Linked DNA regions of Homo sapiens: region 1 is linked to region 2. Evidence: promoter capture Hi-C in human tissues and cell types (Jung and others, 2019). All regions are on one chromosome and are shown on one strand. The core of a region is centred on a gene start or on the middle of the fragment in contact, and the rest is flanking DNA. Distances in the headings are between cores, read along the strand shown. Region 1 overlaps MAP3K3 (mitogen-activated protein kinase kinase kinase 3). Region 2 holds the start of STRADA (STE20 related adaptor alpha).

Region 1 (4,401 bases), core at 1,736-4,235, 110 kb after region 2:
CAACAGCCACATGTAGCTAGTGGCTACAAAACCACATTGGACAGCAGAGATATAAAACATTTCTGTCATCACAGAAGGTTTATTGGACAGCACTGATAGAGGCTGTTTATGAATAATACTGTTGTGAGAAATGGTGACTAGAAGCACTGAACACAGGTCACGGGTAACCAATGCTTTTTACAAATCCACTAAAACAACTTGTCTGGGAAGTGAATTCTGCTGTTGCAGCATGAGTAGCAGATTTAAAAGTACATTTTGGCTTTAACAGGTAATCTGGATCCTTACCAAAAATTTCTTTTTCTCACTGGCCCCTGCACATGAGCTTGTTGTTACTGTGGGGCTGTTCAGAAGGGCTGAGCTGCTGCTGTTGTGTTTTTTCTTTAAAAACAAAAAAACTGAGGTTAATAATTTGTATCCTTCGTGCAACATAAGTTTGACAACATTGAAGTAAATCATGGATCCAAAGATCTAGTACCTCTTGTTAAGATTACTTCCTAACAGTCAATCCTTTTTAGGCTTCTGCCTTCATAACCACTGACTTCACTCTACCAGCGCAGCAGCAGGCACAGCAAAAGATCAAGACTTCCCTCATCATGGCTTTTAGGCTCTAAGCAGAAGGAGTCCTAAAAAGGAATCCTCCTTCAAGGAACCATCAGTGACCATTCCGCCCCTCCTTTTCCCAGCCTCGTCCTTTTGGGCCTTCCAATTCAAGAAAGCTTCCCCTTTTCACCCACTAACTGATATTCATGCTAATAGTCCAGTCTGGAGAAAGATCAGCTAACTGGAGCAATGTTAGCAAGCACACACTACATAGGAAGACAGGAAGGAAAGTGAGGTCATTAGGCTCAAGCAAGGGGGAGGGGACTCACTTCTGGTAAAATGCTCCTTCGAAAAGTGGCTTTGAATACAAATGAGTTATAGCAAGGGAGAACTCACACAGTCAGACTGAATAACATATGAAAATAGTGTAAGAATGGGCCCTTATCTGTTTATACCTCCAGTACTATAAGGTAACAACAACAAAAGCAGCTTTTTAAACTAATCCTTCTGTTTTAACATGAAACAAAAGGACTCCTCTTCCCTTGGGGTCCCTAGGATTCCTAAAGGCAGGAAATACTCTGGAAGGCTCTATCTAGCAGACCACAGACAGGAAAAGTTTTAGGGCCTTATACTATCTCTAGGAACCAATTCTGAAGAATTGGTAAACAAGGTGCAAATGAGAAGAAAGGAGGTTAGCTGATAACAAACAGAACCAAAAGGGAGAATGTCATACACAAATTTTCATCAAACATGCCCAATATAGCTAGCTGACACAGCACTGGATACCCACTAGGTAGGAAAGCTCCCCATCATTCACTCCTCTCTGCAGAACAAAGTACCCAGGAAACAGGTAAGTGGCACTACAGGTGAGAAGAAGATTGTCAATGACACACAAGTTTAAATGTTAAGGAAAATAGGCAATGTTTTCCTAAAGAAGCATACAACTCTCAATAAAACAGGCACTATCAATAAGGTTAATAAGGTAAAATAACTGTAAACAGTAATAACAAAATCACTCATTATTGCCTTCAGAATATACTAGGTGACATTTTAATTAATAAATTTACCTTCTTAATTATATTTTACATAAGCTAATACCAAATTAATTAGTTTTTCCTGACTATATACTGTAAGGTAGCTAAAAACCTTCTGACTTAGGGATCATGAATCTGAATTAAATATTTGCCAAATATCAGTAAAGGGGAAAAACGAATATGAATACTGTCCCCATAACAGATGAAATGCTTACACAAGGCTTTAAGACTCCAAATCATAGATCCATAACTGCATGGCATATATAACTTTTTTTTTTTTTTTGAGACAGAGTTTCACTCTGTCTTGCCCAGGCTGGAGTGCAGTGGTGCTATCTCGGCTCACTGCAGCCTTTGCCTTCCAGGTTCAAGCGATTCTCCTGTCTCAGCTTCCTGAGTAGCTGGGACTACAGGCATGGACCACCACACCTGGCTAATTTTGTGTTTTTTAGTAGGGACAGGGTTTCACCATGTTGGCCAGGCTGGTCTCAAACTACTGACTTCAGGTGATCCGCCTGCCTCGGCCTCCCAATATCACTTACCATTTAACCATACCTGGTTGGTATGTATTACTTCCCATTTAACAGACTGTGAAAGGAAGGGGTCAAAAGCATTCAACCCTGGTAATGTAGTCTCCTTGGCTTTTCGTATATTTCCCATTTGAAAACCCCTCCCCAACAAATCTCACTTAGCTCTGCCAGGGTCACACACACCTGCCTATTTGAGTGACCTGTGTCTTTGTTCTTCATGGTCTCATATCCAGGCATCCGGTGACGTCGGTTCATCTGGAGGGCCACCAGATCGTTCATGATTGAGTTCAATGCCTCCTGTTCGTCTGCAATGAAAGAGAGCACATGGACTAAGACACTTAAATACAGACCAGCAAAGCTCTTTCACAAACTGTATAACTAATACTCAGGGAGTTCTGCCCAGGTAAAATGACAGACCCTGTAACTATAATCAGATGCAGCCCAAAAGGTCAGACTATGGCAATTTGAATTTTAATGGATTCTTTTTTTTCTTCGAGACAAGGTCTTGCTCTGTCACTCAGGCTGGAGTGCAGTGGCGTGATCATAGCTCACTGCAGCCTCCAACTCTGGGGCTCAAGTGACCTTCCCACATCAGCCTCCTGAGTAGCTGGGAACACAGGCATGCACCACCATGCCTGGATGATTTTTTTATTTTTTGTAGAGACGGGGTCTCCCCATGTTGCCCAGGCTGGTCTCCAACTCCTGGACTCCAGTGATCCTCCTGCCTCGGCCTCCCAAAGTGCTAAGATTACATACAGGTGTGGGCCACCATGCCTGGCCTTTAATGGTTTCTTAATAGCCCTCCAATCAGATTTCCTGCAGCAATATTTACCAATTCATTGCAGGGAAGGGACACGCTCAAACAGGGCAGTTGGTCCAGTGCCAGAGAAACTTAACCAGGAAAAATAGATGAAAAATTGAAGTGAAGAACACAGTACAATGTAATATGGTACTGAATGAAAAGATGAATCCATAGAGAGAGGATTATGGCACAGTGTCAGTCCCAGACTTATTCTTAAAGCATCATAAGGAGGAGAGCACACTTTAAAAGGTACCAAATAAGGGCCTCAGGTAACTGCTTTGAACAGAAGTTGTTTTACAAGCCTAGCATTTGAATGCCGCCACCACCAGCAACCCCCACAACTCTTTACAAGTTTATAGGCCTACTACTTCCCATGGGGAAGTCAAAGGGTAGTTCTATTGTTTTTCCTCCCTAAGCTGACCAAGCAATGCATTGTCTCCACCTTACTGGCATTACTTTTAATCCCCTTTTCTTGAAATAGCATGGAGTACTAGAGTTCTCATACATTGAAAACAACTGGCCAAAACCCAGAACACAAACCAGTCCAATTCCATGTTGTACAAATTTTTCCCAGGTCCTTTAAGAGATCTTTGCCCATTCAAATAGCATTTGGAGATTGAAAATGAATAAATCTGTTGATCGTGAAGGGAACATGAGGGATGAGTTGTTACACTTGCTTTGGTGACAACTGAGCCATTTGGGGACTTGGGGCACACCTTAAAAGAAGCAAATACAAAAGATTCCACCCAAAGAGAGTGCCTATCTTCTACCCTTTATCACTGTCCCTTGGAAATATTCTAATACCCTGTGGAAAGAAACGAACAGCATGAAATGTAGGAAGTAAAACTGCTCAAGTCTCTTCTCCCACTACTGATTAACTGATTGACTGACTGACTGAAACAGGGTTTCACTCTGTTGCCCAGGCTAGAGTGCAGTGGTGCAATCACAGCTCACTGCAGCCTCCTCCACCCCCAGGCTCAAACAATCCTCCACCTCAGCCTCCAGAGTAGCTGGGACTACAGGTGCACACCACCATGCCCTGCTAATTTTTGTATTTTTTATTGAGCGAGGGTTTCACCATGTTGCCCAGGCTGATTTCAAACACCTGAGCTCAAGCGATCCTCCCTCCTTAGCCTCCCAAAATGCTGGGATTACAGACATAAGCCACCGTGCCTGGCCCCTCACCTTATTTGCCTCTCCCCTCTTCCTAGACGAAATCTGCTCTGGTGCCCTATATGCCCTCTGACGAGGTACAGAAAAGGACAAAGTTGCCTATAAAGAGGTTTTTGCTTGTTCAGGAAAGTAAAATTAGATTTAAAACTTGCAGGAAAACCACCAGGAGCATAACTTCCCATATGATTCCACTTCAAAACATATACAAAAGTATGTATGAGAGTGACATAGCTGTAATATAGAAAGCATGCAGTAAAGGGGATAATGAATGAGGAGAAAGTGGGTATCTACAAAAAGACATCTGTCAAATTAACACATATATATC
Region 2 (4,414 bases), core at 1,613-4,112:
TACTCTCTTTTGCTTTTCTTTCTCCCAATGGAAACCAAGCAGATCCTTTCAGAGTTCTTTATCTGCAAAAATTGATAGGGTATTTTTTGAGGAAGAGGGGAGTAGCTTATGATTCTGTTTCCTTAGTAGTAGCAAACCTTTTCCTGTAAAGACCAGATGTGAAACTCCTCTTTTTTTTGTTTTTGAGATGGAGTCTCACTGTGTTGCCCAGGCTGGAGTGCAGTGGTGCAATTTCGGCTCACTGCAACCTCCATCTCCCAAGTTCAAGCAATTCTCCTACCTCAGCCTCCAGAGTAGCTGGGACTACAGATGTGTGCTACCACGCCCTGCTAATTTTTTATATTTTTAGTAGAGATGGGATTTCACTGTGTTAGCCAGGATGGTCTCGATCTCCTGACCTCGTGATCCACCCACCTCGGCCTCCCAAAGTGTTGGGATTACAGGCGTGAGCCAGTGCGCCTGGCCCTAACTCCTTTCTTTAGATGGAATTTAGACCAAAGAAAAACATTGATTTCTTATTCCACCCATTCAGTAGGAATTGGCAATTCAGTAGGAATTGTTTAGAATTGTGTTGTACAAGAATCCAGTGGATTTGGCAGGAAGAGGTGAAACACTGTGCTTTATCATCCCAGGTTCTCATTCCTTACCATTCCTGCCTCCTCTCATTTTGAATGATGTGAAACGATGTAAGAGAGACAAGAGGCCGGGCGCGGTGGCTCATGCCTGTAATCCCAGCACTTTGGGAGGCCGAGGCAGGCAGATCACATGAGGTCAGGAGTTCAAGACCAGCCTGGCCAATATGGCAAATCCCCGTCTCTACTAAAAATACAAAAATTAACCGGGTGCGGTGGCACAAACCTGTAATCCTAGCTACTCAGGAGGCTGAGGCAGGAGAATCGCTTGAACCCAGGAGGCAGAGGTTGCAGTGAACCAAGATTGCACCACTGCACTCCAGCCTGGGCAATAGAGCAAGACTTCCGTCTCAAAAAAAAAAAAAAAAAAAGAGTTATACCCATAGGAGTGTCTTCTGTTACAGACTGCTAAAACAGAACAGTTCTGAGACAATATGTTTTCTCTACCCATTTGTAATGGCTGCAAGAAGTTTAGCATCTTTTCAGACAGTCTCTCTAATACTCGGTTCCAAAAGACCACATGTGAAAGACCCTTCAGTAGAACACTGCTAGAAATTTTACTTCTCTGTTTATACTCTGTTGCTTTGTGAGTTTACCAAGTTTGCTCCTGAGAGTGGCATCTTATTTTGAGAATGAGAGCATGTGAGGGTAGCCCTTAGCAATGTCAAAGCACTCGATAAAATCAAAATGATGTGGCCCAGCACAGATGGCTCACACCTGTAATCCCAGCACTTTGGGAGGCCGAGGCTGGTGGATCACCTGAGGTCAGGATTTTAAGACCAGCCTGACCAATATGGTGAAACCTCGTCTCTACTAAAAATACAAAAATCAGCCAGGCGTTGTGGCGTGCGCCTGTAGTCCCAGCGACTTGGGAGGCTGAGTCAGGAGAATTGCTTGAGCCCAGGAGGCAGAGGTTGCAGTGAGCCCAGATCACGTCACTGCATTCCAGCCTGGGCAACAGAGCAAGACTCCATCTCAAAAAAAAAAAAAAAAAAAATCAAAGTGATGTATGTAAGATCAAATGAGAACTCATGTGCATACAGGTCCCACAGTTTCAGGGGCATATTTCTTTTTTTCTTTTTTTTTTTTTTTTTTTTTGAGACGGAGTCTCGCTCTGTCGCCCAGGCTGGAAGTGCAGTGACGCGATCTCTGCACACTGCAAGCTCCGCCTCCCGGGTTCAGGCCATTCTGCTGCCTCAGCCTCCATAGTAGCTGGGATTACGGGCGCCTGTCACCACGCCCGGCTAATTTTTTTGTACTTTTAGTAGAGACGGGGTTTCGCCGTATTAACCAGGATGGTCTCGATCTCCTGACCTAGTGAACCACCCGCGTCGGCCTCCCAAAGTGCTGGGATTACAGGCGTGAGCCACCGCGCCCGGCCTTCCAGGGGCATATTTCTATAAGTCCCTACTTGGATGTAGCTAAACTCCTCCCCCAGTCTTGGAAGTTAGGACGGTCTAAATCTGTGTCAAAGCTCAGAGCTGGCAAGAGCGAGTGTTCATTACCTGATGGTATATATCCGCGTTTTGGATACCCCCTCCTGCGCACGCGGGGGATAAGTCACTGAAAAACCTAGTCTCACAGGAGTGAGGCTTAGTTCATCGCTTCCTCATTTCTCAAGCTCTGCATAACCTGGCTTGGACAAACCTGATAGGTTTCCACAAACGGCTTCAGCTGTGGATGAGGAAGGCTTCGGGGGAAAAAAAAAGATACTGAGGGGACAAGATCGTTTTCATTAGTTGAGCTATTTTCCTTGTTTTACAAATAGTGGGGAGCAAAGAAAGGATGGGCTTCCCCTTTGCAGCTTGTTGTCTGGTGCCCGAGAGGCCAAAGTGAGGGGCATTTGAGATGTCGTCCAAGAAAAGTGCGAGGCGGGTTTTCCATTAGAAGTCCTACCACATGAAATGAGAAAAACACAATTCTCAGGAACAGCCAAGTTTGCCTTTCTCTGGTCCTTCATTGTTGAAGCCACCTGCTTCCCCCTCCTGCTGCGGGGGCGGAGGCTGTAGGCGGAAGCGCTGCGCGGCGGGAAAGACAACGGGAACTGAGAACCGCTCTCGGCGCGGCGGCGGCTGCTAGGGCCTGCCGCAGCCGCGGCCACTCGGAAAGGGCGGGACTTCCCCGCAGGGCGGGGTGGGGCGGAGCGCTCTATCAGTCCTCCCGGTCGCCCCACTGCGCATGGCACGTTGCGTACTCCCCTCCCAGCAACCGGTCTGGCGGCGGCGCGGCAGTAAAACTGAGGAGGCGGAGCCAAGACGGTCGGGGCTGCTTGCTAACTCCAGGAACAGGTACCTGCCTGGCGGGGTGCCTGGTACGCTGCCGGGGCCAGTCCCTCCTGGCTCTGCCACCGATTCCATCTCCCCAGGCCCGGGCCTTCGTCGGAGCGGCCATCCTGGGCTCACCTCACCCTCCACGGGCCCCCTTTTTAACCCGCGTCCTCGACTCCCGCAATGAGGCGCCGCAGCCCGAGAGCAGAATAGGCTTGGGCCTGGCGGGGAGACGCTGAAGCGGAGTTGCCGGGCGAGAGAGGCGGGCTCCTGCTTTCCCCTTCCTCCCCACCCCCTAGGACTTCCAGGTGGGGAACCTAGGGCTGGGTGCCGGTTTGTCCTGTTCAGGCAGAGTGGCGGCCGACCCCGGTCCTGGGCTCCCCGCTGTCCCCAGCCGCCGCGCACTTTGGGCTGACAGGCAGCGGGTCAAGTCCTCGTAAGGACACAAGATCCAGATGACTCCCAGAATCGGCCTAAACGAAGAGCTCATTGTCTTTTTGTTTTCCAGAAATGTTTTTTGGGTGCCTGCAGGGGATTTGGGCGCCGGAGATGGGGGTTGGGGATAAGGAAGAGAGCTCGAGGGAGGGGCAGTGGGTAGGTAAAATTGTTCATAGTTCTCAGGAAATAGGGAACTAACCTCTCTGCCCAGCCTTCTCCTGTATCCTAACATACTTTAACTTGACTTTCCCGGAGAAAGAGCCGTTGGAATTTGCCCTTTTCTTATTGTAATATCTGTTCAAGTAGAAGCATGTTCCAATACGTATATGCGACGTTAAGACAATTCTTCATTGACACTCATACCTTCCTGAAGACACCCAGGACTGTTTCTTGTCCCTGAGAGTTAAGGAAGAAACCAAATTTGATCACCTGCCAAAAGCCTGTGAATTCAGCCTTTAGTTACAGTGCTGAACTGGTCAAATCTGTCCCCTACTTTTTAATCAGATTTCTTAGAGGTGTTTTGGCTGGAATGCAGTGTTTATAGTTGTGGCCCCAGAAATGGAGGAAGTTTACTCTGGTTTTTAGAGCGCAGGCTTTGGAACAGATTTAATTAGTCCCCTACCACTTATCTGTGTGACTTTGGGCATTTAACCTCCCTGCACACCTGAATTTCCTGATCCGTAAAACAGAGATGATAATACTTGTGAGCTGCTCATGAAGCATTTAGCACAGTGCCTGACACGTAGGAAGTTTGCCATAAATGTTTGCTGGGTTTATTATTTTCTCTCTTTATTTTTATTTTAATTTTTTTGAGATGGAGTTTCGCCCTCGTCCCCCAGGCTGGAATGCAATGGCGCGATCTCCGCTCACTGCAACCTCGGCCTCCTTGGTACAAGCAGTTATCCTGCCTCAGCCTTCCGAGTAGCTGGCATTACAGGCACCCCCCACCACACCTGGTTAATTTTTGTATTTTCAGTAGAGACGGGGTTTCACCATGTTGGTCAGGCCGATCTCTGAGGTCCTGACCTCAGGTGATCCACCAGCCTCGACCTCCCAAAGTGCTGGGATTACAGGCGT

What was found. The method cuts DNA at HindIII sites, captures the fragments that hold promoters and counts their contacts. A contact is called where the count stands out against the background at its distance.
Region 1: a contact is called between a fragment that was not itself captured here and the fragment with the promoter of STRADA in region 2, in 3 of the 25 tissues and cell types used here (dorsolateral prefrontal cortex, mesenchymal stem cells and thymus).

The regions. Positions count from the first base shown.
Region 1 is chr17:63,630,686-63,635,086 of GRCh38, reverse strand. MAP3K3 (mitogen-activated protein kinase kinase kinase 3) reads right to left here. Exons shown (of 16, transcript NM_002401.5): 2 at 2,285-2,406. Among named protein-coding and RNA genes, the nearest start is that of MAP3K3, 10 kb to the right of the region's middle. The HindIII fragment of the contact is 6,236 bases long and covers 1-4,401 here.
Region 2 is chr17:63,740,247-63,744,660 of GRCh38, reverse strand. STRADA (STE20 related adaptor alpha) reads left to right here and starts at 2,862. Exons shown (of 13, transcript NM_001003787.4): 1 at 2,862-2,920. RefSeq lists silencers at 2,580-2,699, 4,203-4,371 and an enhancer at 4,237-4,414. The HindIII fragment of the contact is 12,282 bases long and covers 1-4,414 here.